Regions from separate parts of the Homo sapiens genome. Here all the other regions are linked to region 5. The links are contacts of gene promoters, found by promoter capture Hi-C in blood cells and fetal thymus (Javierre and others, 2016). All regions are on one chromosome and are shown on one strand. The core of a region is centred on a gene start or on the middle of the fragment in contact, and the rest is flanking DNA. Distances in the headings are between cores, read along the strand shown.

Region 1 (3,539 bases), core at 120-2,619, 390 kb before region 5:
AGCATTCCTAAATGACAGGGAGATTTATAGTTTGAGTGCCTTCCCATTACGAAGACTGTTTAAGTGACTTGGGAAAGTTTCTTTAAAAAGAAAAAAAAATGGAGCAGATTAAGATGAGATTTTATTTTTCTTTTTTTCCTTAAAAAGAAAAAAAGGCTAGGCGAGGTGGCTCATGTCTGTAATCCAAAGGCTAGGTGAGGTGGCTCATGTCTGTAATCCCAGAACTTTGGGAGGCCGAGGTAGGTGGATCATTTGAGGTCAGGCGTTTGAGACCAGCTTGGCCAACGTGGTGAAATCCTTGTCTCTACTAAAAATACGAAAATTAGCTGGGCGTGGTGGTGCACACCTGTAATCCCAGCTACTGGAGAGGCTGAGGCGGGAGAATCGCTTGAATCTGGGAGGTGGAGGTTGCAGTGAGCTGAGAAGCCGAGACCACGCCACTACACTCCAGCCTGGGTGACAGAGTAAGACTCCGTCTCAAAAAAAAAAAAAAAAACAAATTCTTCCTGGGCTTTCTTAAAGCTGGGGTGTGTGTGAAGCGAAGCTGAGGAAGTTCAATTGTTCTCCCACTAAGTTCTCTTTCCTGGAACAAAGAGGACCTGCAAAGAGAGTGAGAGGACTGCTGGCATCTTGAAATATTCTTCTACTCTCCTTTGTCCTCTTTTCCTTGGGTGAGGCATGCAGAGACTCCTCTTGGTTTGTTATTTGCTCATTTATTTGTTCATTCATTTGCTTATTCATTCAAAAGCTAGTAAGAGAAGATTGTTAAATTTGAAAATTTTGCTTCCCAGAATTAAACCATTTTAAATCAACCATGACAGCAGTATTTATACCTTGGATATTGGCAAATGCTATAGGTTATTAAATAAAATAAAATAACATTTTATTTACAATTTAATAAAAATTACAATTTCAAATTTTTGTCTTTAAAAAAGAAAATAACAACCTGCTGTTTATGTGTTGGAATTGTGTTATGTATCAGGGCATAAGAGTGAACAAGATAGTCCAGTCTCTGCTCAAAGGGAGCTTACAGTCTGGTGCTGCACTGTCCTGTCCAATCTGGTAGCCATTAGCTACTAGCTACTGCTGTGGTTATTAATTTATTTTTTAAAGTTTTTAATTTTGGCTGAGTCTGGTGGCTCATGCCTGTAATCCCAGCGCTTTGGGAGGCCGAGGCAGGTGGATCACCTGAGGTTAGGAGTTCGAGACCAGTCTGGCCAACATGGCGAAACCCCGTCTCTACTCCAAATCCAAAAAAAAAAAAAAAAAAAAAAAATTAGCCAGGTGTGGTGGTGGGCGCCTGTAATCCCAACTACTCGGAAGACTGAGGCAGGAGAATCACTTGAACCTGGGAGGCGGAGGTTGCAGTGAGCCGAGATTGAGCCAGTGCACTCCAGCCTGGGCAACAAGAGTGAAACTCTGTCTCAAAAAAAAAAAAGTTTTTAATTTTTGTGGGTACCCAGTATGTGTATCTATTTTAGGGTACACGAGATATTTTGATACAGGCATACAATGCATAATAATCTCATCAGGGCATCCATCACTTCAAGCATTTATCCTTTATGTTACAAACAATCCAATTATACTCTTTTAGTTATTTTTAAATGTACAATAATTTATTTTTTTTGAGACGGAGTCTTGCTCCATTGCCCAGGCTGGAGTGCAATGGCATGATCTTGGCTCACTGCAACCTCTGCCTCTCGGGTTCAAGCAATTCCCCTGCCTCAGCCTCCCGAGTAGCTGGGATTACAGGCATGCACCACCATGCCTGGCTAATTTTTGTATTTTTAGTAGAGACGGGGTTTTACCATGTTGGTCAGGCACGTCTTGAACTCCTGTCCTTGTGATCTGCCCGCCTCAGCCTTCCAAAGTGCTGGGATTACAGGCATGAGCCACTGCACCCAGCCTTAGGCTGGTGCTTTTTAAACTTTTTTTGCTTCTGGGGAGTGGGTGATAGGGAAAGTTCTGCCAGCCTGGGAGGGGCCCACTAGAGCCTGCTGCTCCAGTGTGGATTGTGGGGAGAGGAAAAGGAACTGTGTGCTTTGGGCCCAGATCACTGGAGTGCCCTGAGTCTCTGAGAAGTTTACCCTACATCCCTCCTGTGGCAGCACCATCCACTTCACCAGGATCTGACCAGGGCCTTCAGGGGGACACAGCCTCCCCGGATCTGAGCATCACTATCATTCTAATTCCTTGGGCTGTTTCTGTGTAGATAATTATTTTCCAGCTCATTCAGGCAGGTGAGGTTGAGGCCAGCAGTGCAGCTAAATCCTTACACCGTGACTGGGGCTGCTTTTATACAGGTTAGGGGAAGAATAATCACTTATGGCTGAAATCTAATGGAAGAGGGAGTTCTGTGTAACTCTAGTGGGCAGAGCTGAGTTTAGAAGGTTAGTAGGAGGCAGATTTCAGCCCAGTAGAAGGAACAATAATGTTCCAGTAATTATACAATTATTATCCAACAGGGGCTATACTGTCATAAATTCTTCAAACGGAGGCCAGATGTTAGGAAGGCCACAAAGAGGATTCCTACTGGGAGAGGCCAAACTTGAACCATCTGTTTATTTATTTTATTTTATTTATTTATTTTTTTGAGAATGGAGTTTCACTCTTGTCACCCAGGCTGGAGTGCAATGGCACAAACTTGGCTCACTGCAACCTCCGCCTCCCGGGTTCAGGTGATTCTTTTGCCTCAGCCTCCCAAGTAGCTAGGATTACAGGCATGCACCACCACGCCTGGCTAATTTTGTATTTTTAGTAGAGACGGGGTTTCTCTATGTTGGTCAGGCTGGTCTCGAACTCTTGACCTCAGGTGATCCACCCACCTCGGCCTCCCAAAGTGCTGGGATCAGAGGTGTGAGCCACCACACCGAGCTGGTAAGTATATTTTTATTTTTATTACTATTTTTTTTGAGACAGAGTCTTGCTCTGTTGCCCAAGGCTGGAGTGCAATGGCAAGATTTCAGCTCACTGCAAACTCCGCCTCCCAGGTTCAAGCAATTCTTCTGCCTCAACCTCCCAAGTAGCTGGGAATACAGGCGCATGCCACCACGCCTGGCTATTTTTTTTTTTTTTTTGTATTTTTAGTAGAGACAGGGTTTCACCATATTGGCCAGGCTGGTCTTGAACTCGTGACCTCGTGATCCGCCCGCCTCAGCCTCCCAAAGTGTTGGGATTACAGGCGTGAGCCACCGCGCTGGGAGGTGTATTTTTAAACTTAGAAAAAACGGCCCAACTGTTTTCCAAAGTAGTTGTACACGTTTTGTATTCCCACCAGCAACATATGAGGGTTTCATTGCTCTGCATTCTACTTATTTATTTATTTATCTTTGTGACAAGATCTCACTCTGTCACCCAGGCTGGAGTGCAGTGGTGCAAACATGGGTCACTGCAGCCTCAACCTCTGGGGCTCAGGCAATCCTCCCGTCTGGGCCCCTTGTGTAGCTGGGACCAAAGGCACACGCGACCACGCCAGGTGAATTTTAAAATTTTTTGTAGAGATGGAGTCTTACTTTGTTGCCCAGCCTGTTTTTCAACCC
Region 2 (3,356 bases), core at 411-2,910, 350 kb before region 5:
GATAGGAAAAAAGCAATGTGGGAGAGAGGAGATAGGGTCAGAGTAGAGAAGAGGACTCATGGGATAGAATTGAATCATTCATTCATTCATTCATTCATTCATTCATTCATTCAGTGAATCAAACAAGTTCCTGTGCTGGGTGTGGAGGGAAGCAGAAACATGTATAAGACACGCCCCTACTTTTGAGGAAGATGCCTTGGCGCTGATGTGCGGGCCCTGGACTTAGGGTACAGGACTCCGGTTTGAGCTCTGACTACTACTTGCTGGGCACATTACTTCTTAGAGCCTTGGATTCCTCATCTGTAAATAAGGATAAGAAGACTGAACTCCCAAGGTCCTTGTGAGGGTCAAATGAGACAAATATGGAAAATGCCTCATTAATAGTGGATGTTCAGTGCATGCTAAATGACTGTGGATCAGGTTTACAATCAGGGAGGGGAGCTCAGACATGCCCACAGCAAGTGTAACCCAGCCCAGGGGTGTAACAAAGCCCTATTCTTGGGGTCTCTATAGGAGTGGCCACTTCCGGCAGAGGTGACTGGGGCAGGCTTTGTGGGGAGGTGCCTGATGCATGATTTTCATTCAGCAAATGTTTGCGGAATGAATGGGGTGAGCTGGAGCCAGGACCTGCAGGAAGGGTAAGGTTTCAACAGGTGCAGGTGACAAGGAGGTGCTTCAGGAGAGGAGGGCACAGTCCTGGGGGTGGGGTGGGGAGGGCAGCTAGTGCCAGGTGGGGAAGGCTAAGCCTCAGCCACCAGATGAGGAATTTGACCTTTATTCTGAAGGCAACGGGAAGCTCTGGGCTAGGGAGTGACAGGATCAAAGCAGTGTTTGTAGAAGATCAGTCTGGCTGGGCACTGGAGAGGATACCTGAGCGAGCAGGAGAGGTGGTGGGGGGCGGGGGGCAGGGACACACCAGGCAGAGGGACAGTGTGTACATGTCTAGAAGTCTCAGGACAGGCAATTATGTCACCCCCTTCCACTCTGCAGAGGGGGCCTCTCGCACCAGCCTGTCTCCAGGGCAGGTCTCACCAGCCTGCTAGGAGGGAGCTTGAAAGGGAGGTGGGGAATTTCTCAGGGACACAGAGAACATGAGAACACTGCCTCCTTTCTCCTCCTTCCTCCCCTACCTGGGGCCCAGCTCAGAGTAATGGGCCCTGAGGGGGAGAGAAACGCAGCCCTGGAACTGGAACCTGGGTCCCTTTGTTGGTAGGCTCCACCTCCTGTCCTCTAAGATAGAGGGCTGGAAGAGACAAAGAAACTATTAGGCCCCATTAAGAACTGTGCATAAACCCTAGAACTCAGGAACAGAGGGATAATTGAGGTGATAGTATTGCCCAGCCCTGGAGCCCAACTTTCCTTGAAGGGGAAATTTCTGGCCTGGGGCTGGCTGGTAGGAATCTAAAGCCTTAGCCTTTGTGGAGATGAATCATCCTAATCTATCTCTTTGACCCCACCTCCGCCAAAGAGATCCCTTTTGCTCCAATCTCATTCCTGAATGTGCCACACTTCAGGTATCAATGGGGCAAGGCCAGGATGACGGAGGGGGATACCTGCAGGGGAAGAGGTGTTGAGCAGGTTTCTGAAAATGGTGACCATTTCAGACCCTAAATGGCGCCATTCATACCTAAGTGCTGAGTGGTCTCACAGTTTTAGGTATGCTTCGGGGCCCACAGTCTCTCCCAGCCTCCAGCCCTGACTCAGCCTGAGCCCCTGGGAGCCAGAGATAGCTATCCCAGCTATTCAGAGGAAGGAGATAAGGTTTATGGCTCTGGACAGGCTCACCCTGGGGAGACTGTGCATACACACCTCCTCCAGCTGCATTCCTCCCGGTCCTGACCTTGTCTTACTCAGTCTTTTCCTGGAATTACTACAGGAAATAGTGAGCTGTCTGAACGCACCATTTTCAGAAAACTGCCTAGCACCTCCTCCCCTGAAGGTATCCCCTCAATCATCCCGGCCTTGCCCCATTGAGGTCTATACAACATCTTTTTCTTGGCTTCTGGGCAGGCCTGATCCCATCTAGGACCAGTGAGAAGGGGGCCCAGCCCTGTTCCTTTTCCACAGACGCATCCTCCCCATTCCTGGTCACTCATTTCTGCTCCAATGACTCCTTGAATTAGTAAGTCCTTCCTTCAGTCTACCCTTTCACTCCCTTTCGGTGCTTAGTTAAGGAGAGGATGCTCCTCTGTGCGTTGGCTGTTGCCGCAGACCACAGAGTACAGCTGAGGGTCCACTTCACTCCAGGAGCCCTTTAGCTGAGGGGAGGAAGGCAAAAGACAGAAGGAACGGTGAATTCTTAGAGAAGAGTGCATGGTCTTTTCCCATCACAGTAGTGTCCTATACAGTAGTGTCCTATACAAGCAATTATCTTTACAAATTACAATTATCTTTACAATTATCTTTACAAACATTATCATCATATAATTTATTTTATTTTTAAATTTTTATTTATTTTTTTGAGACAGGGTCTGGCTCTGTCGCCCAAGCTGGAATGCAGTGGCCTGTCATAGTTCACTGCAGCCTCAATCTAATTTATTTTACATATGAGAGAACAAAAGCTGAGAGCCCAAATCAAGTATGATTTTTTTTTTTTTTTTTGAGACGGAGTCTCCCTCTGTCGCCCAGGCTGGAGTGCAGTGGCGCAATCTCAGCTCACTGCAAGCTCCGCCTCCCGGGTTCATGCCATTCTCCTGCCTCAGCCTCCCTAGTAGCTGGGACTACAGACGCCCGCCACCATGCCCGCCTAATTTTTTTGTATTTTTAGTAGAGACAGGGTTTCACCGTGTTAGCCAGGATGGTCTCGATTTCCTGACCTTGTGATCTGTCTGCCTCAGCCTCCCAAAGTGCCGGGATTACAGGCATGAGCCACTGCGCCTGGCCTAATGTATGATTTTAAGTATAATGCTTTTGGCCGGGTGTGGTGGGTGGCTCACAACTCGGCTCATGCTGAGGCAGGCGGATCACCTGAGGTCAGGAGTTTGAGGCCAGCCTGGCCAACATGGTAAAACCCCGTCTCTACTGAAAAAATACGAAAATTAGCCAGGCGTGGTGGCGGGCGCCTGTAATCCCAGCTACTCGGGAGGCTGAGGCAGGAGAATCGCTTGAACCCGGGAGGCGGAGGTTGCAGCGAGCAGTGATCATGCCACTGCACTCCAGCCTGGGCGAGAGCGAGGCTCCGTCTCGAAAAAAAAAATATATAATGCTTTTCTCACTACACTGCAAGCACTTTAGGCAATTCAAAGCTCTAAAATCCATATTAATTTAAATGTAATAATACAGGTAATTTTAATAATTTCAAAAATTAATAATTAGTAATAAAAATAATTTAGAGCCGGGCGTGGTGGCTCACGCCT
Region 3 (3,707 bases), core at 872-3,371, 320 kb before region 5:
TGTATTTTTAGTAGAGACAGGGTTTTGCCATGTTGGCCAGGCTGGTCTTGAACTCCCGACCTCAAGTGATCCATCTGCCTCAGCCTCTCAAAGTGCTGGGATTACAGGTGTGAGCCACTGCACCCAGCCAACAATTTTTTTTGAATAGGTAACAAATACATTTTATATATAATTCTTTTTTTTTTTTTTTTTTGAGACGGAGTCTTCGCTCTGTCACCCAGGCTGGAGTGCAGTGACATGATCTCGGCTCACTGCCAGCTCCAGCTCCACCTCCTGGGTTCACGCCATTCTCCTGCCTCAGCCTCCCGAGTAGCTGGGACTACAGGCATCTGCCACCACACTTGGCTAATTTTTTTTATTTTTTAGTAGAGACGGGGTTTCACCATGTTAGCCAGGAGGCCTCGGCCTCCCAAAGTGCTGGGATTACAGGTGTGAGCCACCACATCCGGCCTTTATACATAATTCAAAAGTACAAGAGGACCCTTCCCCAGTCAGCCAGTTTCTGTTCCAGAGGGCAATTAATGCTACCAGTTTCCTGTGATTCATTCCAAGTAGAAGTTATTATATATAGTTACATAGGGACATACATGCATACATTTCTATCTATCCTTCATGAAGGGTATTGTACTATATGTGTTGTCACATGCCTTGCTTTAACATTCACCCAATACCTGTTCCTTCCATATCAGTATACAAGTTGCTTCTCCACTCTTTTTCACAGCTGCATAATATTCCACTTTGGGATGTGCCACAATTTACTTAACCAGTCCTCTATTGGTATTTGCTATGACAATGGTGAGGATATCTTAATAATTCCTACAAGTGGAATTGCTGAAGCAAAATGTGTGCACATTTAAATTTTAGTAGACTTTTTGTTTTTAAAGCTTGATTTCCTATGGGACTGAATTTTAGTTTTTTAGAAAATTTACATGTGTAGAAGAAGGTTCCTGTTTGACTATTCCAGATGAGCCAGCCATTATCCCCCACTTCCCTCCACCCTGCCTTTCCCGACCCAACCACCCAGGATTAAAATGATGAGTCTTCCAAGCATTTGTGGACTCTTCTGAAGATATTTTAATTCCAAGGTTTTGCTCTGCCTGCCCGCTGATCTGGGCTAAGGTGGTCTAGGAGCTCCCCTGTAGTAGGGGGATCTGAAGGTGGGCTAAGGACCGAGGGCCAGGCTGACTGGAGTGTAAGGTGGTGGGAATGGAGGAGTGAATGTTAAAGCAAGGCATGTGACAATGCGGACAGTACATACCCTTCATGAAGGATAGATAGAAATGTGTGCATGCATGTCCCTACGTAATTATATATCATAGATTCTACCTGTTGGGAAAGGAAGAGGAAGCACCACTGCAAGGAAAGGAAGGCAGGGAAGGATACCAGCATGGTGGGTGGCCCCCTAGTTCACTCTCCGCGCTGCCCTTTTACACATTGTGGTGGGCATAGTTGCTTTGTCTAGCCAGGACCCCTTCCCCCTTCTTCTAGTAATGCAAAGCTCCCCCACCTCCACTCCTGCCACGCCCCACTTCTTTTCAGGAACTGTTCCTCCTAAGATCACAGGACCTCTGTCCAGGCACACAGGGTTCACAATGGGCCAGCCTTGGCCAATCACAAGTCCCTTTGTTTCCTCCTTGCTGAGGCATATTGTACATACAATAAAATGCAAAATGTGCTTTAATGGGGAATGTACAACCTGATGAGTTTTTTTATTTTTATTTTTATTTATTTTTTTTGAGATGGAGTTTCACTCTTGTTGCCCAGGCTGAAGTGCAATGGCACGATCTCGGCTCACTGCAACCTCCGCTGCCCAGGTTCAAGCGATTCTCCCGCCTCAGCCTCCTGAGTAGCTGGGACTACAGGCATGCGCCACCACGCCGGGCTAATTTTGTATTTTTAGTAGAGACGGGGTTTCTCCGTGTTGGTCAGGCAACTCCCGACCTCAGGTGATCCACCCGCCTCAGCCTCCCAAAGTGCTGGGATTACAGGCGTGAGCCACCGTGCCCGGCGCCTGATGAGTTTTAACTTATGTTCACACCTGTAATGTAGAACATTTCCTATATCACAGAAGGTTCACTTGGGCCCCTTGCCAGAGTGCACTTTTTTTTAGTAGACTTATTTTTTAAGAACAGTTTTAGCTAGGCGCTGTGGCTCATGCCTGTAATCCCAGCACTTTGGGAGGCTGAGGCGGGTGGATCACGAGGTCAGGAGATCGAGACCATCCTGGCTAACATGGTGAAACCCCGTCTCTACTAAAAAATACAAAAAAATTATCTGGGTGTGGTGGCAGGCGCCTGTAGTCCCAGCTACTCGAGAGGCTGAGGCAGGAGAATGGTGTGAACCCAGGAGGCAGAGCTTGCAGTGAACTGAGATCATGCCACTGCACTCCAGCCTGGGCGACAGAGAAAGACTCCGTCTCAAAAAAAAAAAAAAAAAAAAAAAAGAAAAAAAGAGCAATTTTAGGTTCATAGCAAAATCGAGCAGGAGGTAGAGGGTTCTCATACACATTCTGCCCCTACACCTGCATCCCACACCAGAGGGCTACATTTGTTACAACATCATCAACATCCCACCTCAGAGGGATACATTTGTTACGATTGATGAACCTACATTGACACATCATTATTACCCACAGTCCATAGTTCACATTAGAGTTAACTCTTAGTGTGGACATTCTGTGGGGGCCATGTAGCCACCATTACAGTACCATACAGAATAGTTCACTGCCCCCAAAATCAGAGTGCATTCTCAAAAATATGAATCAGATTCAGTTACTTCCTTATATGGAAAACCCTTTATTTTTATTTTATTTTTTTCTTTTCTTTCTTTATTTTTTATTATACTTTAAGTTCTAGGGTACATGTGCACAACATGCAGGTTTGTTACATATGTATACATGTGCCATGTTGGTGTGCTGCACCCGTTAACTCGTTAACTCTTCATTTACATTAGGTATATCTCCTAATGCTATCCCTCCCCTCTACCCCCACCCCACGACAGGCCCTGGTGTGTGATGTTCCCCACCCTGTGTCTAAGTGTTCTCATTGTTCAATTCCCACCTATGAGTGAGAACATGCGGTGTTTGGTTTTCTGCCCTTGCAATAGTTTGCTCAGAATGATGGGAAAACCCTTTACTTTTGACACCCAGAATAAAGCCCTAAATCTTGACTTGGCCCACAGGCTGTGCCTACTCTTCCTCCTCTGAGGCCTCATCCTGGCCACTCTGTCCCTTGCTCTCTGATGCAGTGGTGCAGGCTTTTCAGGGCATAGCCTACATGGAATTTGCTTCTGCTCAGGGCATTGCATGGCTGGCCCCCTGCTTGGAACACCCTGCCTTTCCTAGTCACTCCCAAGCTTTCCGCTCAAACGCAGCTTCCCCAAGAAAGTCTTCTGACACCACAAGACAAGACAAAAAGTTTTATGACACCACAAGACAAGAAAGTCTTCTAGACACCACAAACTGAGTGGCGTGTTTCTATGATAAGTTCCCAAGGCACCCTGTATTTTCTCCTTGTAAATTACAGTCACTCATTCATCTGCAGAGGTATTTTATTAATATCAGCCTTTCCCCATACACTGTAAGCTCCATGAGGGCAGGGACACACCATATCTGCTTGGTTCTCCACTGATTCTTCAGTGTTTAGCAGAGTGCCAGGCACATAGTAGGTGGTCAATAAAAATTATCAAATAAAAAGGAATGAACCATT
Region 4 (3,340 bases), core at 811-3,310, 340 kb before region 5:
TTTTCTTTTTTTTTTGAGACGGAGTCTCACTCTGTCACCCAGGCTGGAGTGCAATGGTGCAATCTCAGCTCACTGCAACCTCCGCCTCCTGGGTTCAAGCGATTCTTCTGCCTCAGTCTCCCAAGTAGCTGGGATTACAGGTGCCCACTACCACGCCCGGCTAATTTCTGTATTTTTAGTAGAAATGGGGTTTCACCATGTTGGCCAGGCTGGTCTTGAACTGCTGACCTCAGGTGATCAGCCCGCCTCGGCCTCCCAAAGTGCTGGGATTACAGGTGTGAGCCACCACGTCTGGCCTGATGGTCACTTCTCAACAGGGACTTTCAGGAAATACCTTGCCTTGGTCAAAGGAGACTCCTACCTCCTTTGGTTTGAGAGGACCCAAATACTTCATCTCCTGAAATTTTTTAGACTACTGCCTGATAAGCAAATATGTGGATAAATGAAAAGGTGAATACAGGAAGGAATAAAGGCCTCTAGTCCCTGTCCCCAACTCCCACCTTAGTCCTCAGGTTGCCCAGCAGGAAAATCAAAACAGTGGGCCTCTGGATATCAGCTCCAGTGCTAAGCAGCTCAGGCCAGGGGAATCCTCAGGGCTGGGGTGGGGGTGGGCAGGATGCCTATAGCGGAGCCCCAGGTCCTTCCTGTTTGTTCTTTTCCTGCACTCCTGTCCGGTTGCCTGAACACCATGAGGGCTTCCCCTATCGCAATGTCAGCTTCTGAAGTTTCCTTGAAATCCTCTCAATAACTTCCACTTCCTGTCACTCAAGTCCCCAGTACCGCTGTCTTCACTGTCAGGAGTGGGACCCATTTGTGTCTGTCCTCTCGCAGTCTCTGTCTCTGTCTCTGTGGCCCTGGCCAACGGTGGTGGAGTTTCAGGTTCTGGGGACTGAACCACTCTGTTTTCCTTCCTGAGGGACAGAGTATATCACCCTTTCTAAGCAGGAACCTGCAGTGCTGTGGATTTGAGCTCTGGCCTATTTCCTCTGGGAAGAGGAAGAAAGTGTGTTCCTAAAGGTCTTGGTGTTGGGACCAGAGCTAAAGCCTGGTGCCTGACTCTGGCTGTACCGAGGAAGCTTTGAAAATGCAGACGGGGTGCGACCTGAGCACGTATACTGTTATAATCTCCCACGGGCGATCTTGATGTGATGGAGAACCAGAGTTAAGGGGAAGGACTCTGTGGACTGAGCCATAGCTGGGACCTTCCGCCTAGGCTTCATGCTCACCCAGTGGGATGACCTTCTTGGTTTGGCATCAGTGGAGAGGAGGGTGAGAGAATGTTGAAAATGTGAGAAAGGCTGTGTGCAGTGGCTCACGCTGTAACCCTAGTACTTTGGGAGGCTGAGGCAGAAGGATTGCTTGCATCCAGGAGTTCGAGTCAGGCTGGGCAACATAGTGAGATCCTGTCTCTAAAAAAAAGAAAAAAAAGTGTGGGAGACCTCAACATCTTCAGGCTGCTGGGCTTGTGTCTCCTTCCTCCACAACAAGGCTGTGCTGTCCTCCCTCACTCTTGTTCTAATAATTTCTAATCATATCTCTTATCACAAGCAAAATTTCAAACCAGAGAACATTCACAGATTTTCATCTTCAGTGCGTAAAGCTCTATGGTGGTGGATGTGGATCAAAAGCTTTCAGAGTTGGCGGGACTTGGACATTCTAATTCAAACCCTAGCAGATGTGAGAACCCCCTCCCACTGAGCCAGTGGACAGCTGGTGAGCAAGGTCCCTCTCCATGTCTCCAGGTACAGGAGGTTGCTCCCTCTCTAGGCAGTCCATTTCCATCCTGGCTGGCTTTAATCATCAGATCCATCACTGATCAAGAGCAAAAAAGTCAGCATTTGCTAAGCTTTGACAATGAAAAATTTTAGCCTTGAGGCACATAACACAAAATTAGCAATCGAATTGACTCTATTATTCATGATGCTGCTTCCTGAGGGGTGTACCCACCACCTGTGGCTTCCTATTTAAACAAATTGTTCTGCTGTCTCTATGCTAAATGCAGCTATTTCTATACCAATAATAACATTTCAAAATGCTCCATCATTTAAAGGGATTTCGGGTGCTTTTCGGGCATTGCCTTAACCCAGAGGCAGGAAGCCTCTTTACCTGGGGCATCTAAACAAACTCTTTGCTTCTTTCCCCTGACCCCTTATGCTGGGCACAAAGCCCCTGCTTTTTATATGTAGCTCATTTATGCTTTTGTGGTTATCTTTTTGTTACAACTTTGTTGAGCTGTAATTCACATACAATATAATTCAACAATCTGAAGCTTGCAGTTCAGTGATTTTTAGTATGTTCACAGACTTGTGCAGCTTCACCATCATCAAATTTGTTTATTTATTTATTTATTTTTGAGACAGAGTTTCACTCTGTCTCCCACGCAGGCTAGAGTGCAGTGGCACAGTCTTGGCTCAATGCATGCGGCCTCAACTTTCGGGGCTCAGGTGATCCTCACAACTCAGCCTCCAGGGCAGCTGGGACTACAGGCGTGTGCCGCCATACCTGGCTAATTTTTGTATTTTTTGTAGAGACGGGGGTCTCATTATGTTGCTCAGCTGGTCTCAAACTCCTGGGCTAAAGTAATCCTCCTGCCTCGACCTCCCAAAGTGCTGGGATTATAGGTAGAGCCATTGTGCCTGCCCACCACCATCAAATTTAGAACATTCTCATCACCCCAGAAAGAAACCCTGTGCTCTTTAGCATTCATCTCCATTCCTCCCCTCCCTAGGCAACCACTAATCTACTTCCTGTCTCTATGCTTTGCCTGTTGTGCACATGTCATATAAATGGAATCATAGGGTACCTGATCTTCTATGACTGTCTCCTTTCACTGAGCATACGGGTTTCAAGGCTCATCTGCATCCAACATGCATCAGTAGTTCATTCCTTTTAATTGTAACATTAGATCGTATGGATATGCCACATTAAAGAAATCCATTCGTCATTTGGTGGACATTTGTTTTGTTCCCACTCTTTGGCTATTATGAACAAGGTTGCAGCGAATGAGATCATCAGTCCTGATCTCTAAGCAAAACTTGTTCAGATCCCGGGAGGCGGAGCTTGCAGTGAGCCGAGATTGCGCCACTGCACTCCAGTCTGGGTGACAGAGCGAGACTCCGTCTCAAAAAAGAAAAAAAAAAACTTGTTCAGACCATCTCTTCCCATGATCATGAGTGATGATAACAGCTACCTCCCCACCCCACTGGCCCCAAGACTTAATGCCACTGCTCAGGGTCTCAGGGCCTTCTCTGAATTATCCTGCACCATCAGAAGTAGGGGGCCTGGCCCTCACTCTTGGCCCACAGGGAGTGAGTGTCTCCTCCTTCCCTGGTTCACTCTC
Region 5 (3,459 bases), core at 149-2,648:
TTCTGCCCTCGGCTGGATCCAAACAAGCCAAGTGTTCTCAGTTTAGTTATAGGAAGTGGTCAGAGTCTTGCATGAGGGCAGCTGCCAGATACCTAGCTTTGAAATAATTTTTTTTGTTTTTTGGAGACAGAGTCTTGCTCTGTTGCCCAGGCTGGAGTGCAGTGGCACAATCTAGGCTCACTGCAACCTCTGCCTCCCAGGTTCAAGTGATTCTTCTACTTCAGTCTTTTGAGTAGCTGCGACTACAGGCATGCACCACTGCGCTCGGCTGATTTTTGTATTTTTAGTAGAGGCGGGGTTTCACCATGTTAGCCAGGCTGGACTCAAACTCCTGACCTCAGGCAATCTGCCCTCCTTGGCCTCCCAAAGTGCTGGGATTACAGGTGTGAGCCACCATGCCCAGCCCTGAAATAATTTTTTAACATTGCACTGTACCCACACTACCTGAGCTATAAAGCAGTGATACTTCCTGTTTGAAAATTGAGTGCTCCCTGAAGTTGCCAGGAAACTGGCAGAACAGCCCACCCTGAACCTGGGAGTGAAACTCAGGGGGTCCTGTTCCTTGGTGACTTCAGCCATAGGGTGTTTCCCCAGGGAGTGCAGGGGCTAATATCCCAGCTCCTGCCTGACTTCCTAGAGTAGGACAAATAATCTTATCCAGGAGAGAAAATCCAACTGGAGGAAATGCAGCTGACTGGAAAGGTTCTCATGGTTGTAAGGCAATGTCAAGGTCACCACCACCCAGGCCCTGCCCAACACAGAAGGCCCTAGACAATATCCCTGCTAGGGGGGCATGCAGATGCTGCAGAGTCATTCCTCTTCCTTCCTGGGGTCCACTTCACTGCTAGACAGCTGTGGTCCTTAGCATGGCCCAAGGACGGACCCTGGAGCTTCTTACCCAGATCCAGATCTTTGAGGACATCTTTCCAAGAAGAATCATCTTTCCATGTCTTCTTTTCCCTGAGGTAAAAATTCCAGCTTCCACACAAGACCCTATAATAGAGAGATGGTTTCTTTTGGGAAGAAACCTGGGGTTTTTCAGGTGAGTCTACTCTGGGGAAAGCCAGGCATTTCCCCTGCTCCTTGCTGATGGTTAAGCAAGAAGGAGGTAGCACTGGAAAAATAAAGCTAGGAGATCTCTTCAGGGGATAACTCTTCAGGTCCTTAATTAGGGAGCACAGATAAACTCCAAATTAGACCACTCCACTCTGCAAGGGCAGCATATTCCACTTGCTATCAGAAGAGCTTTGTTGCTGCAAAGGGCTTGGAGATCTCTGTTCTACAAATTGCCCATGGCCCCTGGCCCATCAGCAGGGGAAAGGAGATAGTGGAGAGACGCCCTTTTCCGGTGTCCTGGGCTCAACAGGGATAAAAGGAGGCAGCACTCTGGGTGCCCCATCAGTGTGTTCTCTACCCCTTGGAGACTGCTTTTCTCCAGCTCTGTCAACTCAACCTTTCCCACCATGAGTCGGCAACTGAACATCAAGTCCAGTGGTGACAAGGGCAACTTCAGTGTGCATTCGGCAGTGGTGCCAAGGAAGGCTGTGGGTAGCCTGGCTTCTTACTGTGCAGCTGGCAGAGGGGCTGGCGCTGGCTTTGGCAGTCGGAGCCTCTATAGCCTTGGAGGGAATCGGCGTATTTCTTTCAATGTGGCTGGTGGCGGCGTTCGGGCTGGAGGTTACGGCTTCAGGCCTGGCTCTGGGTATGGAGGGGGCCGGGCCAGTGGCTTTGCTGGCAGTATGTTTGGCAGTGTGGCCCTGGGGCCTGCATGTTTGTCTGTGTGCCCACCTGGGGGCATCCACCAGGTCACTGTCAACAAGAGCCTCTTGGCCCCCCTCAACGTGGAGCTGGACCCTGAGATCCAGAAGGTGCGCGCCCAGGAGCGGGAACAGATCAAGGTGCTGAACGACAAGTTCGCCTCCTTCATTGACAAGGTGGGTCTCATAGGAGGAGGATGAGGCCGCACCCTGAGGCCTGAGCAGTTTTCCTGCTGCCTGGGAATGGACTGCACACTGTGGCTGGAAAGGTGCAGCTGGGCCTCAGGAAGGGCTTCCTCACCATTAGGGAAGGAGAGTAGGTCTGTGAGCCACGGAGGACAAAGGAATACATGAATATATCGGCTTCTTTGGCGATTTTGCAGGGAAGGATGGGAAGCTGGGTAAAGAGCAGCCCTTCCTTGACAAAAAAGTGATGAGTTTCTTGAGGACAGCTGGATCTTCCAAGAACATGAAAGGCTAATAGAATCCAGCAGTGTTCAGAGGGAAGGGCTCATGGTACAGGAAGAGACACTTAGTTGAGACATAAGGAAGGACATCTCCTGGGACCAGGGCCGAGCAATAGAAGAAAGCTGTGGAAACTCCTTGAGTGAGTTCTCAGTGATGCCTTGTCCAGAAGGCTAGGAAATGAGCACTTGTAAAGGATCTAGTTTGTGTGGAATGGCAAGGGTGGAGAGTCAAGACATGAGCAAAAATGACTACAACAATCTATGGCAAACCTGGGGAGTCAATGGTGTGTGTCCAGGGGGCATGACTGCACCCATTGTGGTTCCAGGTGTCTGTTGATTTGGGTTCCAGGTACGCTTCCTAGAGCAGCAGAACCAGGTTCTAGAAACCAAGTGGGAGCTGCTGCAGCAGCTGGACCTGAACAACTGCAAGAAGAACCTGGAGCCCATCCTTGAGGGCTACATCAGCAACCTGCGGAAGCAGCTGGAGACACTGTCTGGGGACAGGGTGAGGCTGGACTCGGAGCTGAGAAGCATGAGGGATCTGGTGGAGGACTATAAGAAGAGGTGAGCAGGCTCCACCCGAGGGTCACAGACCATGTTTCCCGTGCCTCTGGGCTCACCTGATCTCTGTGCCATTATTTTTTAGGAGATGGGGGAGTATGCACCAGGGTCAGGAGCTCACATCCCTTTCTCTGGCTAGGGGGAAGGGCCTATCCTCTTTGATGATAACTTCCTGCCTAGTTGATAGGAAGCGGTTCCTGTGCTCCTTGACCCACTGAAATGTTCAGTTGCTGGTGTCGGGAGCCCAATAGGCACCTGGGTGTTTTCCTAACATGCAAAAACTAGGAGACAAGTGAAGCAACTCAGGGATATCTTACTCCTGTCACTAGCCTCTTACTGCTCACCCCAGAGACCCTGCAGGGACCCTGTATCCCAAACATTTGCCTGGCCAGCAGGAAGAGAAAGTTCCTTGGCTAAGGGGGCTAAGGCCATCTACTCTCCCTGCTGGCAGATATGAAGTGGAGATTAACCGGCGCACGACAGCAGAGAATGAGTTTGTGGTGCTTAAGAAGGTAAGAGAGGGAGGAGCCTCCTTATTAGGGTCTCTCGCACCCCCATCTTAACAACTCTGCTCAGGACTTCAGCCCAGGAGGCTGGGGAGGGGGCTGGTGCCTGGTGAGGGGGCTGGTGCCTGGTGAGGGTGGAGTCATAGTCCTGGCCTCCAGTGAGTTGGA
Region 6 (3,326 bases), core at 192-2,691, 370 kb before region 5:
TGAAGCTGAATGACCATCCCTGCTGAATGAAGTGTTGGGGGGAACCCTTAGGTGTTTGGCCTTCAAGTTTGTCAGCTCCAGCAGCTCGTTTTTCTGGCAGGGCCTGGTATGACACATTTGGCTGTGTTCTTTGCTCTGGAGTGGACCTATTGATTCTTATCGAGCTACCAGCTGAGGGGGAAGGGGAGGACAAATAGTAGGGCAGACCTGGGAGAGAAGGGACCCTGGAAAAGCCTGGCCAGTGGACCTGCCAGGTGGGAGGCAGAGCACAGATAAAGAGCCTGAGCCTGGATTGTTCCTGATCTGTCACCTAATGGTGGGGAGAGCCCCACAGTGCTCAATGGGAGCCAGCCAGGGGGCAGTCAGGGTGGAAGCTGGCCAGGGGAGGGTCGGGGCCTGCTGAAGGCTGGGAGGCAAACGGGATGCAAAATAACATACAAATGAATGCCCACTGGTTTTGCATACAAGGCTTCTGGGAGGTAAGAGGTTCCAGTCAGAGGGGTCTCTCCTGCTTTCACCTTTATATTCCCCCACTGGATTCCAGAACTGTCAAGTTGGGCAGTATTTTATAATAAAGTATGTGGAGTCAACAAGCTACGTACTGCCTTTTACTGTTATTGCTAAGCTTTAAGTCAGCCAGCCTGGATACTTTGCTAGCTGTGTAACCTTGGGGAAGTCACCTAACTCTGAACTTCAATTTCTTCACTTGTACAGGGAAAACAGTAAGACCTGTCCAGTCTATTTCCTCAGGTGGCAGTGAATGTGAGTGTAAATTGTCACTCACTCATTCATCAAACAAATACTAATTATTTGTACTGGAGCCTTCCTTCAAAGTAAGGAAGGCTTCAATATATACAGGAGGGCAGATAAAGGGGGTCAATTTAATTCGAAAGACGGGCTCAAGGGGTTTGAAGTCTGTCTCTCTGAGTCATTTAAAAACCCTGGGGCACTTTGAAATCTACCAGCAATCAAAACAGATTCTAGAATTTTTCTCCAAGCTAATTCCCAGGTCCTTGTCTGATTCCTGCCCCACCCCAACTGCTAGGAAACTTCTGGGACCTGTGGAGGTGCAGCGTGGGGGCTGGAGAGGGAGAGCTGCCAGCTAGACTTTATCTCTCCTACTGATGTCGATGGCCACATTCCTGACTTCTTGCAGCATGGGGCAAATACCGACCTCGGGCTTCCAGCACCAGCCTGCCCCTTTCCACCACTTCCAGATTCCTCTGTGGCTCAGGGCTTTTTCACTTTGTCAGAGAGCCTCTTGGAGAGCTGGGGTGAAGGTCTCGGCCTCCAGATTCCCAGCACTAGGGTTCTGGGGTGGGGGTGGGAAGCAAGGTGGAAAGGGGGATGGCGTGATTGTGAGGACAGTCCCGGGAAAGGGTGGAGCAGGAGGGGCCCTGGTGAGAAGCTCCCAGAACAGACACAAAGAGTAATGAGCCTCGGCAGGGGGGAATCCGGAAAGAGGGGAAATGGTTCTCCACCCACCATCAGTCCTGCATTCCAGCGTCCAGCAGAAGGGGAGTGGGAACCTGTGAGGCAGGTTTAACTTCAGAGTAGACTCAGAGATGACCCGATAGGGGTGGGTCAGCTCTTACTGCCCACTCCACATTCTCCCACAAAGGGCTTGAGCTGATGGCTCTGGGGAAACTAGGTGGTGGAGAGATGAGAGGATTAGGGAGGATTGGAAGGCCTGCAGTCCTTCCGCCTTTGCTTTAACATTTAGGCTGGAAATTCCTTGCTCAGCCTGGAGGAGGGAGGTGTTCGGAACAGCAACTGAGGTGTAAGGATGGGGTCTATACACAAAACAGGGAGAGACTGATTCCCATCCTCTTCTTTAAAGACTGAGGGTGACTCCAGTGTGTTGGAGACAGTGAGAAGGCCCTGTGGTGGGGTGGGCTGGAGGGAGGAAGGGATCGCCTGGGAGGCTCCCCTGGGCTCCTTTCAGCTACTCTCAGTGGAGGGTATACCCATGCAGGGGGCCCTCCCACAGGAGAAATCCCAGGGCTGCTGAGTTAAGGGTAGAGCTGTTGAGACAGAGGGAGATCTGGGGTAGAACCCAAAGGAAAAGGAATCTGGGGTGGAATGGGAATCCTCCTGCCCAGCCCTGCATCTGGCACATAGGTGGAGCTCCGTAAATACTTTAGGTTTAAGTAATTAATAAACATGGGGTGCTAGGAGAGGTCAGTGGGGGTCATCAGAAAGTGCAGTCAGGTAGACTGCAGAGAGACAAGAGGTGGGGGCAAGGGTACAAGCTTCAGAGGCAGCTGCGGAGCAGGGGGAGGATGCGGGTGGCAGCTGGGTGCAGGACCCAGTCTGATATCAAGACTTCTGGAATTTCAGCACCCTATTTGGAGTCCCTGGCACTGCCTGTGGAGGTGGGAACGGGTTCTCAGGGCTTGGGCCAGGCCCTCTTCCCCAGGGGTGGGAGAGTCGAGGAATGCCCTGACACTTAGTATCATTGCTTCGGTTGGGTTTGTGCCCTAGGGGTTATTTTCCAAGGATAAAGGAAGAGGAAGGGTCAGCGCTGAGAAGCGTGTGGCTGCCCAGAAACCTCCAGGCGCTGAAGCTCAGAGAAGTCGGGGAACCTGGCCCTTCTAGGAGCCCCTCAGCTCCCTGGCCCAGCCCCACCAGGAATGGCCTTGCCTGTGCTTATGTCCTTTGCCCATTCTGACCCTGGTGCTGTTGGCTTCTCCTCAGGTGCAACCCCAGTATCCCAATGCCATATCCCCCAGCCTATCGCCTCACTCAAATCTGCCCAGAGATTAGGGGAGGGCAAAGGGATGAATAGGGCACTTGGTGTCAAAAGACCTGGATTCGGCCAGGTGGCTCATGCCTGTAATCCCAGCACTTTGAGAGGTTGAGGTGGGAGAATCGCTTATGGCCAGGAATTTGAGACCAGCCTGGGCAGTATAACAAGACCCTGTCTCTATGAAATAATAAAATATTTCAATATTTCACAATATTCCCCACTGCTGGCTTAGTGATCTTGAGCAGCCTTTACTAGCTTGGTCTCTCCTCAGCTGTAGAATGAGAAAAATAGTAATATCCACTTAGAGAGTTTTCATGAGGACCAAATGAGATGACGTGCCTGGAAGAGCTTTGGCAGCTGAGAAGCCAGCTGACCTCCCCTCCTGTCTGCTTTGCCCCATTTGCTCCTTTTCTTCCCAGCCCCCTTGTTCTTTTGCACTTACTACTCTCCAGCCTTCTGCTCCCTGCTCACCACTATTTTTTTCCATCTAACATGGGCTCAGGGCAGGGTGGCTAAGACTGAGTCTTTGAAAAGGGGGGTGAAATGGAAGAACAGAGTGGCCAAGAACCTATCTCCA

Evidence for each region. Contacts are between HindIII fragments. The CHiCAGO score rates a contact against its expected background, and 5 or more counts as called.
Region 1: a contact is called between a fragment that was not itself captured here and the fragment with the promoter of KRT74 in region 5, in 6 of 17 cell types (naive CD8 T cells, M0 macrophages, total CD4 T cells and 3 more). The highest score is 14.3, in naive CD8 T cells.
Region 2: a contact is called between a fragment that was not itself captured here and the fragment with the promoter of KRT74 in region 5, in 1 of 17 cell types (naive CD8 T cells). The highest score is 6.2, in naive CD8 T cells.
Region 3: a fragment that was not itself captured here is called in contact with the fragment with the promoter of KRT74 in region 5 in 9 of 17 cell types (naive CD8 T cells, M0 macrophages, non-activated CD4 T cells and 6 more); the score reaches 15.4 in naive CD8 T cells.
Region 4: a contact is called between a fragment that was not itself captured here and the fragment with the promoter of KRT74 in region 5, in 2 of 17 cell types (naive CD4 T cells and naive CD8 T cells). The highest score is 6.4, in naive CD4 T cells.
Region 6: a contact is called between a fragment that was not itself captured here and the fragment with the promoter of KRT74 in region 5, in 2 of 17 cell types (M0 macrophages and naive CD4 T cells). The highest score is 7.0, in M0 macrophages.

What each region holds. Positions count from the first base shown.
Region 1 is chr12:52,966,392-52,969,930 of GRCh38, reverse strand. No RefSeq gene overlaps it. Among named protein-coding and RNA genes, the nearest start is that of KRT18, 19 kb to the right of the region's middle. The HindIII fragment of the contact is 7,174 bases long and covers 1-3,539 here.
Region 2 is chr12:52,923,694-52,927,049 of GRCh38, reverse strand. It overlaps a transcript of KRT8 not described here. Among named protein-coding and RNA genes, the nearest start is that of KRT8, 20 kb to the right of the region's middle. The HindIII fragment of the contact is 7,195 bases long and covers 1-3,356 here.
Region 3 is chr12:52,890,178-52,893,884 of GRCh38, reverse strand. No RefSeq gene overlaps it. Among named protein-coding and RNA genes, the nearest start is that of MIR9898, 7.0 kb to the left of the region's middle. The HindIII fragment of the contact is 2,470 bases long and covers 887-3,356 here.
Region 4 is chr12:52,908,027-52,911,366 of GRCh38, reverse strand. It overlaps a transcript of KRT8 not described here. Among named protein-coding and RNA genes, the nearest start is that of KRT8, 4.6 kb to the right of the region's middle. The HindIII fragment of the contact is 423 bases long and covers 1,849-2,271 here.
Region 5 is chr12:52,571,782-52,575,240 of GRCh38, reverse strand. It overlaps KRT74 (keratin 74), which reads left to right and starts at 1,398. Exons shown (of 9, transcript NM_175053.4): 1 at 1,398-1,934; 2 at 2,574-2,788; 3 at 3,237-3,297. The coding sequence starts at 1,464. RefSeq lists an enhancer at 2,804-2,973. The HindIII fragment of the contact is 6,698 bases long and covers 1-3,459 here.
Region 6 is chr12:52,943,881-52,947,206 of GRCh38, reverse strand. It overlaps a transcript of KRT8 not described here. Among named protein-coding and RNA genes, the nearest start is that of KRT18, 3.6 kb to the left of the region's middle. RefSeq lists a silencer at 1-122 and enhancers at 1,073-1,668, 2,858-3,326. The HindIII fragment of the contact is 1,627 bases long and covers 628-2,254 here.